Regions from separate parts of the Homo sapiens genome. Here region 2 is linked to region 1. The links are contacts of gene promoters, found by promoter capture Hi-C in human tissues and cell types (Jung and others, 2019). All regions are on one chromosome and are shown on one strand. Each heading gives the region's core, a stretch centred on a gene start or on the middle of the fragment in contact. The rest is flanking DNA. Distances are from core to core; before and after follow the strand shown. Region 1 holds the start of IGDCC4 (immunoglobulin superfamily DCC subclass member 4). Region 2 holds the start of IGDCC3 (immunoglobulin superfamily DCC subclass member 3).

The links. The method cuts DNA at HindIII sites, captures the fragments that hold promoters and counts their contacts. A contact is called where the count stands out against the background at its distance.
Region 2: the fragment with the promoter of IGDCC3 here is called in contact with the fragment with the promoter of IGDCC4 in region 1 in 1 of the 25 tissues and cell types used here (mesendoderm cells).

The regions. Positions count from the first base shown.
Region 1 is chr15:65,419,927-65,426,011 of GRCh38, reverse strand. IGDCC4 (immunoglobulin superfamily DCC subclass member 4) reads left to right here and starts at 3,065. Exons shown (of 20, transcript NM_020962.3): 1 at 3,065-3,219. The coding sequence starts at 3,150. RefSeq lists enhancers at 2,253-2,787, 3,763-4,032, 4,053-4,162. The HindIII fragment of the contact is 12,230 bases long and covers 1-6,085 here.
Region 2 is chr15:65,376,527-65,383,056 of GRCh38, reverse strand. IGDCC3 (immunoglobulin superfamily DCC subclass member 3) reads left to right here and starts at 5,055. Exons shown (of 14, transcript NM_004884.4): 1 at 5,055-5,371. The coding sequence starts at 5,269. It overlaps IGDCC4 (immunoglobulin superfamily DCC subclass member 4), which reads left to right. Exons shown (of 20, transcript NM_020962.3): 20 at 1-1,573. The HindIII fragment of the contact is 8,726 bases long and covers 2,503-6,530 here.

The DNA of each region.
Region 1 (6,085 bases), core at 1,816-4,315:
CTTCTCAACCTCCATGTCCCCCCACCCCACACACGGTAAATCCCTCCTCCTTTTGTTCCATCCTCCCTGCCACCCCATGCCACTTAGGACACTACTATCCTTGTGGGCAGGGACTTGTATTTTTTATCCAGGTCCCCTGGCACCTACACAGTGTGAGATACTGATTTAGGTGCTTAGCATTCAGCAGTGAACCTAGCAAACAAAAATCCCTGTCCTCATGAAGCACACATTGTGATTGTGAGGGGTGGGGGAACAGATCGAAAATAAGTAAAATGTAGAGCATATTAGTAAGTTACAAGTGTTGGCCGGGCGCAGTGGCTCATGCCTGTAATCCCAGCACTTTGGAAGGCCGAGGCAGGTGGATCACCTGAGGTCAGGAGTTCAAGACTAGCTTGGCCAACATGGTGAAACCCCGTCTCTACTAAAAATACAAAAAATTAGTCGGGCATGGTGGCAGGCACCTGTAGTCACAGCTACTCGGGAGGCTGAGGCAGGAGAATCTCTTGAAACCAGGAGGCGGAGGTTGCACTGCGCTGAGATCGTGTCACTGCACTCCAGCCTGGGCGACAGAGCAAGACTCTATCTCAAAAAAAAAAAGAAAGAAAAAAAGAAAGTGACAAGTGTTGGCCAGGCGTGCTGGCTCACGCCTGTAATCCCAACACTTTGGGATCCAAGGCAGGTGGATCACTTGAGGTCAGGAGTTCGAGACCAGCCTGACCAAATGATGAAACCCCGTCTCTATTAAAAGTACAAAAAGTTAGCTGGGCATGTAGTCCTAGCTACTTGAGAGGCTGAGACCCAAGAATCACTTGAACCCAGGAGGCGGAGGTTGCAGTGAGCCACTGCCCTCCAGCCTGGGGGACAGAGTAAGACTCTGTCTCAAAAAAAAAAAAAAAAGAAGAGAAAAAGAAAGAAAATAAAATAAAAAAGAAAGTGACAGTTAAAGACAAGAATAGACAGCAGGGAAGGAGGATAGGAAGAGTAGGGGGTGAGGCTGTGAGAAAGCCTTTATGGTATCCAGTATGAGGGAACAGATCTCTAGACTTGCACTGGCCGGACAAAGGTCTTGAGGCTGGAGGGGAGGAGGCTGCCCGCGATCAAGTTACAGCAAGGAGGATGGTGTGGCTGGAGAGGTGGTGAGCACAGGGGGTGGTGTCGAAGGGGAGGTCAGAGAGGTAGAGCAAGCCTACAGATCAGATAGGCCTTGTGGGTCACAATAAGGACTTTGGCTTTTGCTCTGACATAGGAGCCGCTGGTGGGTTTCTAGCAGAGAAGTGGCATGATCTCATTTTAACAGGAGCACTCTGGCTGCTGTATTGAGAAAACACTCAAGGAGGACAAGGACAGAAAAAGATCAGTGAGGAGTTTGCTGTGACAATCCAGGTGAGAGGCGACGGGTCTTGGACCAAGGCCACAGTGAGAAAGTGGAGGGTGAAGCATCTGAACATGAAGAGTAGGAGATGACTCTACATTTTTTTTTAATAGAAATGGGGGTCTCGCTATGCTGGCCAGGTTGGTCTTGAACTCCTGGCCTCAAGCGATCCTCCCACCTCGGCCTCCCAAAGTGCTGGGATTACAGGCGTAAGCCACCAAGCCTGGCCTCTACATTTTTGACCTGGGCAACAGGAAAGGAACTGAGATGAGGAAGACTGTGGGAGGAGAAAGATTGATAGAAAAGATCAGGATGAGTTTGTCTACTAGACAGCTAAAGGAACTGGGGCCTGGATGGCTGGATACAGAAGTCCAGGGTTCAGGAAAGATGGTCTAGGCTGAAAGTATACATTTGGGCATCATTAGCATAAAGATGCTCTTTAAAGCCTTGAGGACCAGATGAGATCACTAAGGGAAGCAAGTGTTTCAAGGAAGAGGGAGTGATTCACTAAGTCAAATGCTGCTGATAGGGCAAGTGAAGATGGGGCGTGGCAATGAATGAATAAACGCCAGGCCTGTTAGATATGCAAAGCGCCAGTGATTATTGAGGGTTAACTGACAACAGACAGGTGTAGAGACAAGATGGCTCTAAGTCACAGGAACACTTAGAGACACAGGGAAGGGAAGAACTATGGCATCTTGGAGTTGGAAAGGACCTTAACTAGGTCATTGAATCTGTACTCTTTTCCCCACCCTAGCCTGACAATTGAACCCTTGGCTGTAGAACAAGAAATATTTGCGGGATACTGAGGCAAACAGTCTGGCTAGGTAGGTTAGAGAAAGTACCGTTGAAGAATGAGAAAAAGGGTACTTCAGTAAATGCTGGACAGCAGAGGCAGGGTGAGGGAGTGGAGATGACCTTCCGAAGTCAGAAAACCAAGGTTCAGGTCCTGTATCTGCTGCTCCCTAGCCTCCTGTCCTTGGGCAAGTCACTTCACCTTCTCCAGCCTCAGTTTCCCCATGCGGCGACATCTGAATATGGTAGTGCTTGAAGGTAGTGTAAAAGTGTCCTGCCTGTGTTAGTTACTGCCAGAGCAAGGGAAGGAGGCCAAGAGAAGCCCTTGGTTTGGGATGGCAGATAGGACTATCAAGATCTCCGCAGGTGGGCTGGCGCAACGTGTGGAGAAGCGAACCAGCATTCAGGCCAGGACCTGGGCTGGAATGGACTGGGCTCGGGTGGCAAGGGGGCCATCTGGACAAAGACCGTGGCCCTGAATCTGCCTCCCCTGAGCCTGGAACGGAGGTGGAGACCCCGAGGCAGCAACAGGGAGAAGAAATAGAGACGCTGAGGCAGAGAGACCAGAAGACTCAGAGACGGGGAGACTAAGAGACAGACCCAGCAACAGGCGGCCTCACGGGGGCCCGCGGCGACCCGGAGAGGGCGAGGCACCGGGACACAGACCCGGGCCGAGAGGAGCCCCCGCGAGGCGCAGGGCCGTGGCGCGCGGGCGCAGGGTCCCCGGCGGGGCCAGGGTGGCCACACTCGCCGGGCGCCCCCTCCCGGGCCGCTCGCCCAAGATGGCGATGGAGGGGCGGGTGAGGCGGCAGCGGCCCTGGCCCCCGCGCCGGCCCCAGCTCGGGCCCGGGCCCCCGAGGCCGCGCCCCCGCCCGCGGCGCCGCGCCTCCCCGGGCCACTGACGCCCGGCGCGCTCTCCCCCCGCGGCGGCGGCCGAAGCACGGGGAGGCGGCGGCGGCGGCGGCGGCCCGAGCCCAGCCCCATGGCGCGGGGGGACGCCGGCCGCGGCCGCGGGCTCCTCGCGTTGACCTTCTGCCTGTTGGCCGCGCGCGGTAAGGGCGGGCGCCCGGAGAGGCAGGAGCGACTGCGGAGTGCTGGTGCGCCCGCGCCCTGGTCTGCATCGGGCTGCGGGGCTGGCTCAAGCCGGAGTCCCGAGCAAGTGCGGGGGCTGCGCGTCCAGGTGCCCGCGATGCCTGCGCGGGGGTCTGCGAGCTGCGGCCGGGGGGCGTTTGTGGGGCGTGCTTGTCCGCAGTGGGTGTGTGCCTTTGGTTCGCAGAGTCTGGAGTCGTGTGTGTGTGTGTGTGTGTGTGTGTGTGTGTGTGTGTTGGGAGTGCTCCTGTCGTGTCCGCAGTGCGTGCCATGGTCGCGGCGTGGCATCGGCGGGGCGGGTAGCTGCGGTGTCGGTGGCTTTCGCGGGGCGGGCTCTGCCTTGCCTGCGCGTGTCTTGGGTTGAGAGTGTGTGTAAAAGAGGAGGGAACTGGGGTTGTGTCTGCACCTCCATTTGGGTCGGGTGCGTGTGCAATTGTGTTTATGGGGCTGAGCTAATATTTGGCCTTGGCATTTGGGAAGTGTCCTTGCCCATAGTGGGGGACAGAGCGATGGATCCCGTTTGACTGGGGGTGGTGGTGATAAAACAACACTCAACTTTGCCCAGTGGGTGTGGTCCCTGGGGCCGGTTAGAGAGGGGTAGAGGGAGGTGTTGCTCCCCAAAACCTGTGGCCAGCAGTGGACTGGGGGAGGGGGCAGGAAACCATTTGCTTTCGTGGACATGTCCAGCGCTTGTTCTCACGATGGGACGCGTGTCACCCCGGCCCCACCCCCCAGGGACCGACCAGGGAAGCGTGGACGAGGTCAGCAGGGCCTCATCCAGTCCGCAGCCCAGTGCGGAGTGGGTACGGGGTAAGTCAGAGTTGTCCAAGCTGGAGAAAGGGCTGGGGAGGGGATAGCGAAGTCCCCAAGGGTGTGTGTCTAGGGCTGCGGCTTCCACCCACAGCTCTGTCGCTTCCTGTCCGGTGTGCGTTTGGGGGCGGCTCATGGGGAGTGTAGGTGGCAGGGCTGGGAGGGGGATGGGCTGGCCGCTTTGTTCGCCTAGTTCTTGCCTTCCCCGCGGAGGGGGGAGCTGAGGATGTGTCCGGGGAGAGTCGGGGAGGGACTTGGAGGTGGGGGTGGGGAGGGGGATTTCTCTCCAGCTGCTGCGGCTTTCCAGAGAGACTCAGCCAGGCCACGTGGGAGGGAGGCGGGGGGAAGGAGCCTCCGCCTGGCCAGCCCCAGGCCCATCTCCAGGAAAACCAAACAGCGGGTGGGAAAGTGCCGGGAACTCCTCGGACCCCTTCTGTCCCTACAAAGACACGCCCCTTTCCAGCCCCAACAGCGGATTAAGCTGGAGGCCGCCGCGAGGCTGGGTCTCGGCTGCTGGGCCAGAGGAGCTGGAGGCCCTGGCTTGTCAGGTGAAAGGGGCGGGGAAGTGTCAGAGAGAGGTCTGTCTTCCCAGAGCTCAGGGGATTAAGGAATAGTTCCCCTGCCCCACCTTCCGCTATTCCTAGGGCTCCTGGAACGAGCTCAGGGTCACCCAGCTAAACGGCATCAGGGCTGGGAACCGCACCGGCGCATTATTCAATACCTTTAGGACCTGCCGCGAGGGACCCAGCTTCCCTGGCCTCTCCCTGCTCCCGAACGCACAAAGCAGGCGAGGGACCGAGTTGCGGCGTCTCTTGGTTGCAGTGTGAGTGGCTACAACAGCTTGCCCTGGTCCTCCAAATCTCAGCAGGCCGGGGGACACTCCAGTCGAGTCATGACTAGCCACCCTGATCTGTACTGAGGTCATTCATTCGTTCAACAAATATTTATGGAGCACCTTTTATAGGCTAGCTTGTGCCTAGTGCCTAGAATATAGTAAATAAGGAGGCAGACCTGATCCCTGGTGCAAAGCTTTCAGTCTGGTGGAGGGGGAAACTGACAAGTCCCCTGAAGTGCTGGGGAAGACGCAGGAAGGAGGGGCTCCTACACCGATCTGGGAAGGTCAGCAAAAGCTTCCTGAAGAAAGTGATGAGTAGTAGAGCTCGACATGGAGTTAGCCCTGTAGAAGGAGAATGATGATGGGGACAGTTTTCCAGAGAACAGCATGTGCAAAGTTCAGAGGTGATTTAGTTGAGATCATTGGATTAAACTAAATCTAGCTGGAGTTTAGGGACAAGGGGTGGATGGGGGGCAGGTGAGGGAAGCATGGAAAGGGGTCAGGGAGTATCAAGACAGGAGGCTGAAGAGGGGAGCTAGATCCAGCTCACAAAGGGCTTTACAGGGCCCACCAAGGTTTCTGGCCTGAGAGTCCCCATGAGCCCTTGACAGGATTTAAAATCAGCTTTGCATCATCTCATTCCAGCCAGTGTGGAGGATGGATTGGGTGGGGCTGGAGGCAGGAAGCTCCAGCTCCTTCGAGGCTGTTGTAGCAATCCAGAAGAGAGGATGGTGGCAGCTAGCATAGTGGCAGTTGGGGTTGGGCTGGAGTGGCTGCATTCCAGAGATTTTCAGGAAATAGAATCAGTAGAACTTGAGGATAGATTGAATTTGTAGGGGGCGAGAGAGAGGAAAGTAAGAAATAGGCCGGGTGCGGTGGCTCACGCCTGTAATCCCAGCACTTTGGGAGGCCAAGGCGGGCGGATCACGTGAAGTCAGGAGTTCAACACCAGCCTGGCCAACATGGTGAAACCCCATCTCTACTAAAAATACAAAAGTTGGCCAGGTGTGGTGGTGCATGCCTGTAATCCCAGCTACTCGGGAGTCTGAGACTCGAGAATCGTTTGAACCTGGGAGGTGAAGGTTGCAGTGAGCTGAGATCACGCCACTGCACTCCAGCCTGGGCGACAAAGTGAGACTCTGTCTCAAAAAAACAAACACAACAACAACAAAAAAACATGAGGC
Region 2 (6,530 bases), core at 3,806-6,305, 45 kb after region 1:
GCCCCAGGCAGCCCACCCACGCCCAGTGCGGGTGTGGAGAAGATCTTCTGGCTTCCCTGCATCTTGCCTTTGGGATTGGGATCCAAGGGTTCTCCATGGATGGATCCAAGTCATAGAGGGGAATGTTTGAGACAGGGAAGGGGGCTGTGATCCAGAGGCTCAGAATAAAAAGATGCCCTCCCTTCTATGCAGGGGGGCAAGTTTACTGGATGGAGATGATTTGGGCCTCTCTTCCAGAAGAAGCTAAAGGAAGAGAAGGGGAGTGAGAGTTCAGGGAGGCCCTTCCCACCCTGTGAGGCTTGACTTGATCTGGATTGGGGATGACAGGAATCTCACCCTCTGGGGTGCTGGCAAGGAGGTCTTTGCACAGGAAAAGGGGTAGCTCATTTCAGTTTGTTTTTTCTTTAAATTGAATCCTCAAGTCATTTTCTGTTCACCTGCCGCACAGGGACAAGCTTGACTTCTATTTTCTGTGTAGTGAAAACAATGTCATTTATTTGGTTTTTCACCTCAGCCCTCTCATAGGAGCATAGAATGTTAGGGTCTTTACTCCCTAATGATGTCTGATTGGCACATCAAGAGTTAACTCTGCCTTCTGGGCCAAATTCGAAATAACCAGTCCATTTTTCCTTTTTTTTTTTTTTTTTTTTAAATGGTGGAATGTCTCTCAGCACAGTTGCGGCTTCCTCAAACCCTGAAAGCATCTGTGTTTATTATACTCGGGTGTCACTCACTGTTGATGTCTGCACCTACGTTTCCACCTCCTCCCCCTCCTTCAGCCAGCCTATGATAACACTAAAGATTATTAATGTTGGTTTTGTATCTCGTTAAAGACAGAATTGTCACTTGTAGTATTTCTGTAGCATTCAGCGCTGCTGTGGCTAACACCACTGTGTATGTTTCATCATTGCTCTGAAGGTCAAAAGCCTCATTTTATTTTGCTGGTTTGATTTTTTTTTTTTAAAGAAGAAAAAAAAACTGCCCTGAATTAAATGGCTGTTTTAACAGTAGGCTCTTAGCATTATACCACATAGTCATTTTTCATGTTCTTGTTTAACAGGCACTGAGGTTCTGGTTTAAATTAAATAGCTGCAAATGAGACAATTTATAACCCATTAGGTTGGGTGGAAAATTGTTTCTCAAAAGCAAATAAGTAATAAATCTGGTATCTGCCTATAACTCACAGTTGATAAGAAAGTGGCCATTTCTCACTAGCACTATATATGATTTGGGCTCTGGGTAATTTGGAAGTGTTAGGTTTGTGTCTTTGTAGCAGTATTTTTATTAGAAAAGAATCTATTGGCCTTTTACAGGGTATTAATCCCTTTGTCACCTACCATTGATGCCTTAAGTTTTCTGAGTCTCAATTAAAAATCTTCCTTTTCTTGATGCATGACAAGTGTAATCAGTACTTGCTCATTTATTTGTCTGTATTTAGTTTATGCTGTACTATTTAATTATCCTTCCAGCGTTTTTTTTTTCTCCTTACAAATATGATACTCTTTAGTGTTAAGCTAAGGCATTGATTCATGTATCTGTCCTTATAATGAATTAATAAACTATTTTCCAGAAATGTGGAATTCTCTTTTGGAACCATTGACCATGACTAGAATTTCCTCAGCCTTTGTGCCCTAGGGATTTTATTTCTTACTGTGATGGGAAATGATGTTGTTGTTGTTTTTGAGATGGGATCTCTCTGTCGCCCAGGCTGGAGTGCAGTGGCACAATCACAGCTCACTGCAGACTCAACTTCCTGGGTTCAAGCAGTCTTGTCACTGTAGCCTCCCTAGTAGCTGGGACTACAGGCACATGCCACCATGCCTGGCTAATATTAAAAAAAATTTTTGTTATAGAGATGTGGTCTCGTTATCTTACCCAGACTGGTCTCGAACTCCTGGGCTAAAACCATCCTCCTGCCCCAGCTTCGAAAAGTGCTCGATTACAAGCATGAGCCACTGCCTCTTGGCCCAAAATAGTGTTTTGTTTGTTTGTTTGTTTGTTTGTTTGTTTTTTCAGACTAATCTCACTTTGTCGCCTAGGCTGGAGTGCAGTGGCATGATCTCGGCTCACTGCAACCTCTGCCTCCCGGGTTCAAGTGATTCTCCTGCCTCAGCCCCCCGAATAGCTGGGATTACAGGCATGCACCACCACACCCGGCTAATTTTTGTATTTTTAGTAGAGACGGGGTTTCACCATGTTAGCCAGGCTGGTCTCAAACTCCTGACCTCAGGTAATCTGCCCGCCTTGGCCTCCCAAAGTGCTGGAATTACAGGCATAAGCCCCTGCGCCCGGCTCAAAATGGTGGTTTTTGAGGGTAAAAAGCAGGTGGTCATGGGAAAGAACTAAACCATCTTCCTCCCTCAACAGGCACTTAGGAAAAAGACGTAAACTTAGGAAAGATGTGTCCTTTGATGGCACTTCCTTAGACTCTCTGGGGATCTCTTTCCATCTGGGCACACATTTCTCTGAACTTTTTTGGGTGCAGGAAAGAGGGAACAACTCCAGAGATTTGGGCTCCACAACTATTCTCCTGTATAACTCTGGTCACCAAAATTACTCATGGCCACACAATCACACACACGTGCACTGTGTGTACAAGCTCAGAGACCCGCACATGCATACTTTGCCTTCACAAACACCCTTGTGTCTGTCCGTTAATGCAAATGTGCACACAGTCTCACACACAAAACTCCACACTCACACCCCACACACATCTTGGCATCACAGTTGGCAGCTGCTGTCTGCTAAGATCTTTACAGAGCCCGGAACATGCTTTCTATTGGAGGGAATCAAGAGCTAGAGGCTGCTTTGCTCAGGACCACCCCCAAAGTGGTGGGCCAGACCCAGAGTTAATTGACAGATCAGACAGAGAGATACTGCACATTTTGCACTCGGCAGAATAGCCATTATTTGCATATCACTCTCAGACCAAGGGTTGTGATAAAGAAGAATTAAACACTTGTCAAAATGAATTTAAAATGACAGCAATTCAAGAGACCAATTTGACCTCTTCAGAGTCCAGGACAAGCCAAGAAGGGGTTGTTGAGAATTCAAGCCCTGCAGGAGGGAGTTCCAGGATTTTAGGCCCAGGGAGGGCCCTTCCCCTCCCTTTCCTAAGGCCAGTAGACCACCACTCCCACCCTTTCTCACAATGAAATCCAATAGGGCTTTGGCACATTGGAGTCCTCCACCTAGAATTTTTCCATTGCTTCCCGCTGTTCACATGCCTCATGTCCTGCTTCTCAGGCTCATCTTCCAGTAGCTGCCCTAGAGTGAACAGTCCTGAGCTATGCCAACCTCATCATTAGTAAACCTGTCCATCTACAGGCACTCTGATTTCTGGAGGCCTGTACTTCCTTACTTATCCGTATCAAAGTTAGTTTTTTGTTTGTTTGTTTGTTTCGAGACGGAGTCTTGCTCTGTCGCCCAGGCTGGAGTGCAATGGTGCAATCTCAGCTCACTGCAACGTTTGCCTCCCGGGTTCAAGCTATTTTCCTGCCTCAGCCTCCCGAGTAGCTGGGATTACAGGCGCCTGCCACCACGCCCGGCTAATTTTTTTGTATTTTTAGTAGAGATGGTGTTTCATCACATTGGTCAGGCTGGTCTCGAACTCCTGACATCAGGTAATCCACCCGCCTCAGCTTCCCAAAGTGCTGGGATTACAGGCGTGAGCCACCGTTAGTTTCGTACATGGTCCCAAAGTTCCAGAGTTGGTATCAAAAGAAAGACTTAGTTTTTCCTCTGCCATCCCAGTCCAGTGCCAAAGGAGCAAATAGCTACATTAGGCCAACTTTTATTATTTATTTATTTATTGAGACAGGGTCTGTGTTGCCCAGGCTGGAATACAGTGGGACTCCAGGCATGCACCGCCATGCTTGGCTAATGTTTGTATTTTTTGTAGAGACAGGTTTTCACCATGTTGCCCAGGCTGGTTTTGAACTCCTGGGTTCAAGTGATCTGCCCACCTCGGCCTCCCAAAGTGCTGGGATTACAGGTGTGAGCCACTAAGCCTAGCCTGCCAGCTTTAATTCTCTAGCTCCTAGAACTTAGTAGCTGCTCAATAATTTTGATGGACTAGTCCATCATGCTGGACTCAACAGAAGACCATTTAATAGAGAGTGGCTGAGATTCAAGATCTCTGAGGGCTAGTATGGGTATGTCTCTGCTAAAAGACATGCTTATCTTCTGTAACATTCTCACGTGGGACCTCTGTTGTCTCCTTATATGTTCTCTGACATGAACGATTGAGGGCCTTCTTTGTGGCACAGAAACGTTACTGGGAATTTTAACTTTCTATGTGCTTTTCCAGTTACCAGGTCATTTGTCAGGACCTCTGCGGTTTAAAGGTCTCTAGGGATGAACAGGAGAGATAAGATTATTTTCATCTTTCAGATGAGCTCAGTGAGAGTGACTGGGCTAGGCAGCAGGCAGAACCCAGGTCGGAAGCCAGGCCCCTTTAGAGCTCTCATTGTCCTGCTGCTGGGTCTGCTCTCTCCAGGCAATCCTCCCCAGCGGAGCGCCAGGACTCCTCGGTCCAGAGAAGCCAAGCTTGCAGCTACAGGATCTATCCTTTGAGTGGAAGGACCAGAAATCCATGGAAAACTGAATCTTTGACAACTTTACGCAGCTTTTTAGAGAATTATCTCTAAAATATGGACTTGGAGGAGGGCGCAGCAGAAAGAGTGGGTCAGAGCAAATCCCGCAGCTGTGTGTCTTTCCGCAGCCCGGACCCACTCCCCAGTCCGCTGGTGTCCACTTCCTCAGCCCCCCAGGTCCCCGGCTGGCCCGCGGGGAGGGGATACCCGGCTGCAGCCCGGGACGGCGCCGGCCGCTCCAGCCACAGTTCAAAGCGCAGGGGGCGCGTCCGCCGCGCAGCCGGGAATGTCCGGCCGCTTAAAGCGCTCGCCGGCTCTTTTGTTCCCCAGACCGGGCCTCCGGGGAGAGGGGGCTGGGGGAGGGGACCGGGAGCAGAGAGGAGGGGGGCGGCGGGCTGGGGAGGAGGGCGGGGCGGCCGCGAGCGGTGCGAGTGTGGAGCGCGCACCCCGGGCGAGGCTGACAGATCGCCCGGGTGGGTGCAAGATGGCGCAAGCGGCGCTCCCCCTGCGCCCCCCGCGCTGCTGAGCAGGCATGCGGCCCCAGTCCCCCACCGCCTGGGCTCGGCCCCGGCCGGAGCCCCAGCCCCGGCCCCGGCGCCGGCCCCGCGGGACGCTGTGAGCCGCGAGAGGCCCGGGAGCCGCGCGTCGCCGAGCCGAGCTGACCGAGAGCCCCATGGCTGTGCAGCGCGCCGCGTCTCCGCGCCGCCCGCCCGCCCCGCTCTGGCCCCGGCTCCTGCTGCCGCTGCTGTTGCTGCTGCTGCCCGCGCCGAGCGAGGGTGAGTGAAAGCGCCCCGGACCGGGCGGTTGCGGACGGAGCCAGGGGAAGGGCGAGCAGGGAGGGAGCGGGCGCGAGGGGCGGACCCGGGGAGAGCGGCGCGGACCTGAGGGCGGACCCCGCGCGGGGGGGACCCTGCGGATCCGGACGGGGAGAGGGTACCAAGGCCGGACTGCTGGGGGCCCTAGGGGCGTGTTGAGGACGGAACCCCCCGGAGGAAGACTGGGGCAGGACCCGGAGCCCAGACTGAGGAGCAAGGAGTGCAGCGAAGCGGGAGCAAGCGGGGCGGGCTGGCGTGGAGACCGAGGGAAACGAGCCAGGGGAGACCGCAAGGCTAAGCGCTGACCGAGGCGGACGAGCTGGGGTGCTGGGTGCCCGGCCGTGGACATAGCCCGAGGCAGCCAAGACAGGGGACAGCAGCCTGGGGAGCGGAGACCGGGACTCTGACGGCTGCACTGGGCGGAGATGGCACGACCTGCATTTGGAGCTGGTACTGGGCTGAGGAGTGCGCGGGAGAGACAGGAGAAGACGAGGGAGATTCCTGGAGGGCGGCGCGTGGCTAGGGAGCGACCCGGGACAGAGCCCGTGAGCCAAGAAGGAGAGGAGAAGCCACCGAAAGCGAGAGCGAGCGAGCCGCGGGGATGCTCACGTGCCCCTGCCCTTCCCCGAAGTGTGCACACGCGGAGACCTTGCCCTGGCTCTCGCGGTCCGCCGGTTCTGCTGCCTGGAGCTCGGCTCTGCTGCCTGGAGCTCGGTCACCACCACTCTGTTCCCTTTAGTGGCTGCAATGGTCCCATCTCCCGGGAGGAGAGTGCAAATCTAGTCCCTTAACCCTCCCACCTCAAGTTCCCCACAGACACTCATCTGGGCTATTCTCTCTCCACTCCTCTCCCAAGAAGTAGAAGCTCGCGTCCGCATCAAGGAAAAACTTTATTCCCGACAGCTATACCAGGGTTGGATTCGGGGCTAAGACGGGTGAACTCACGACATGGGGAGGATGCGCAGGGGTTTGAATAAGTGCGATCCTAAAAAGTCTTAAAACATTACATCTTCCTGGGCCGGGGACGGGGGGAGGGGGGCGCGGGGGGCGCTGGGCGGGGAATGCCTATAACCCCAACGCCCCTCCTTTCTCCCCACCCATTTCCCCATCTCCCTCAGCC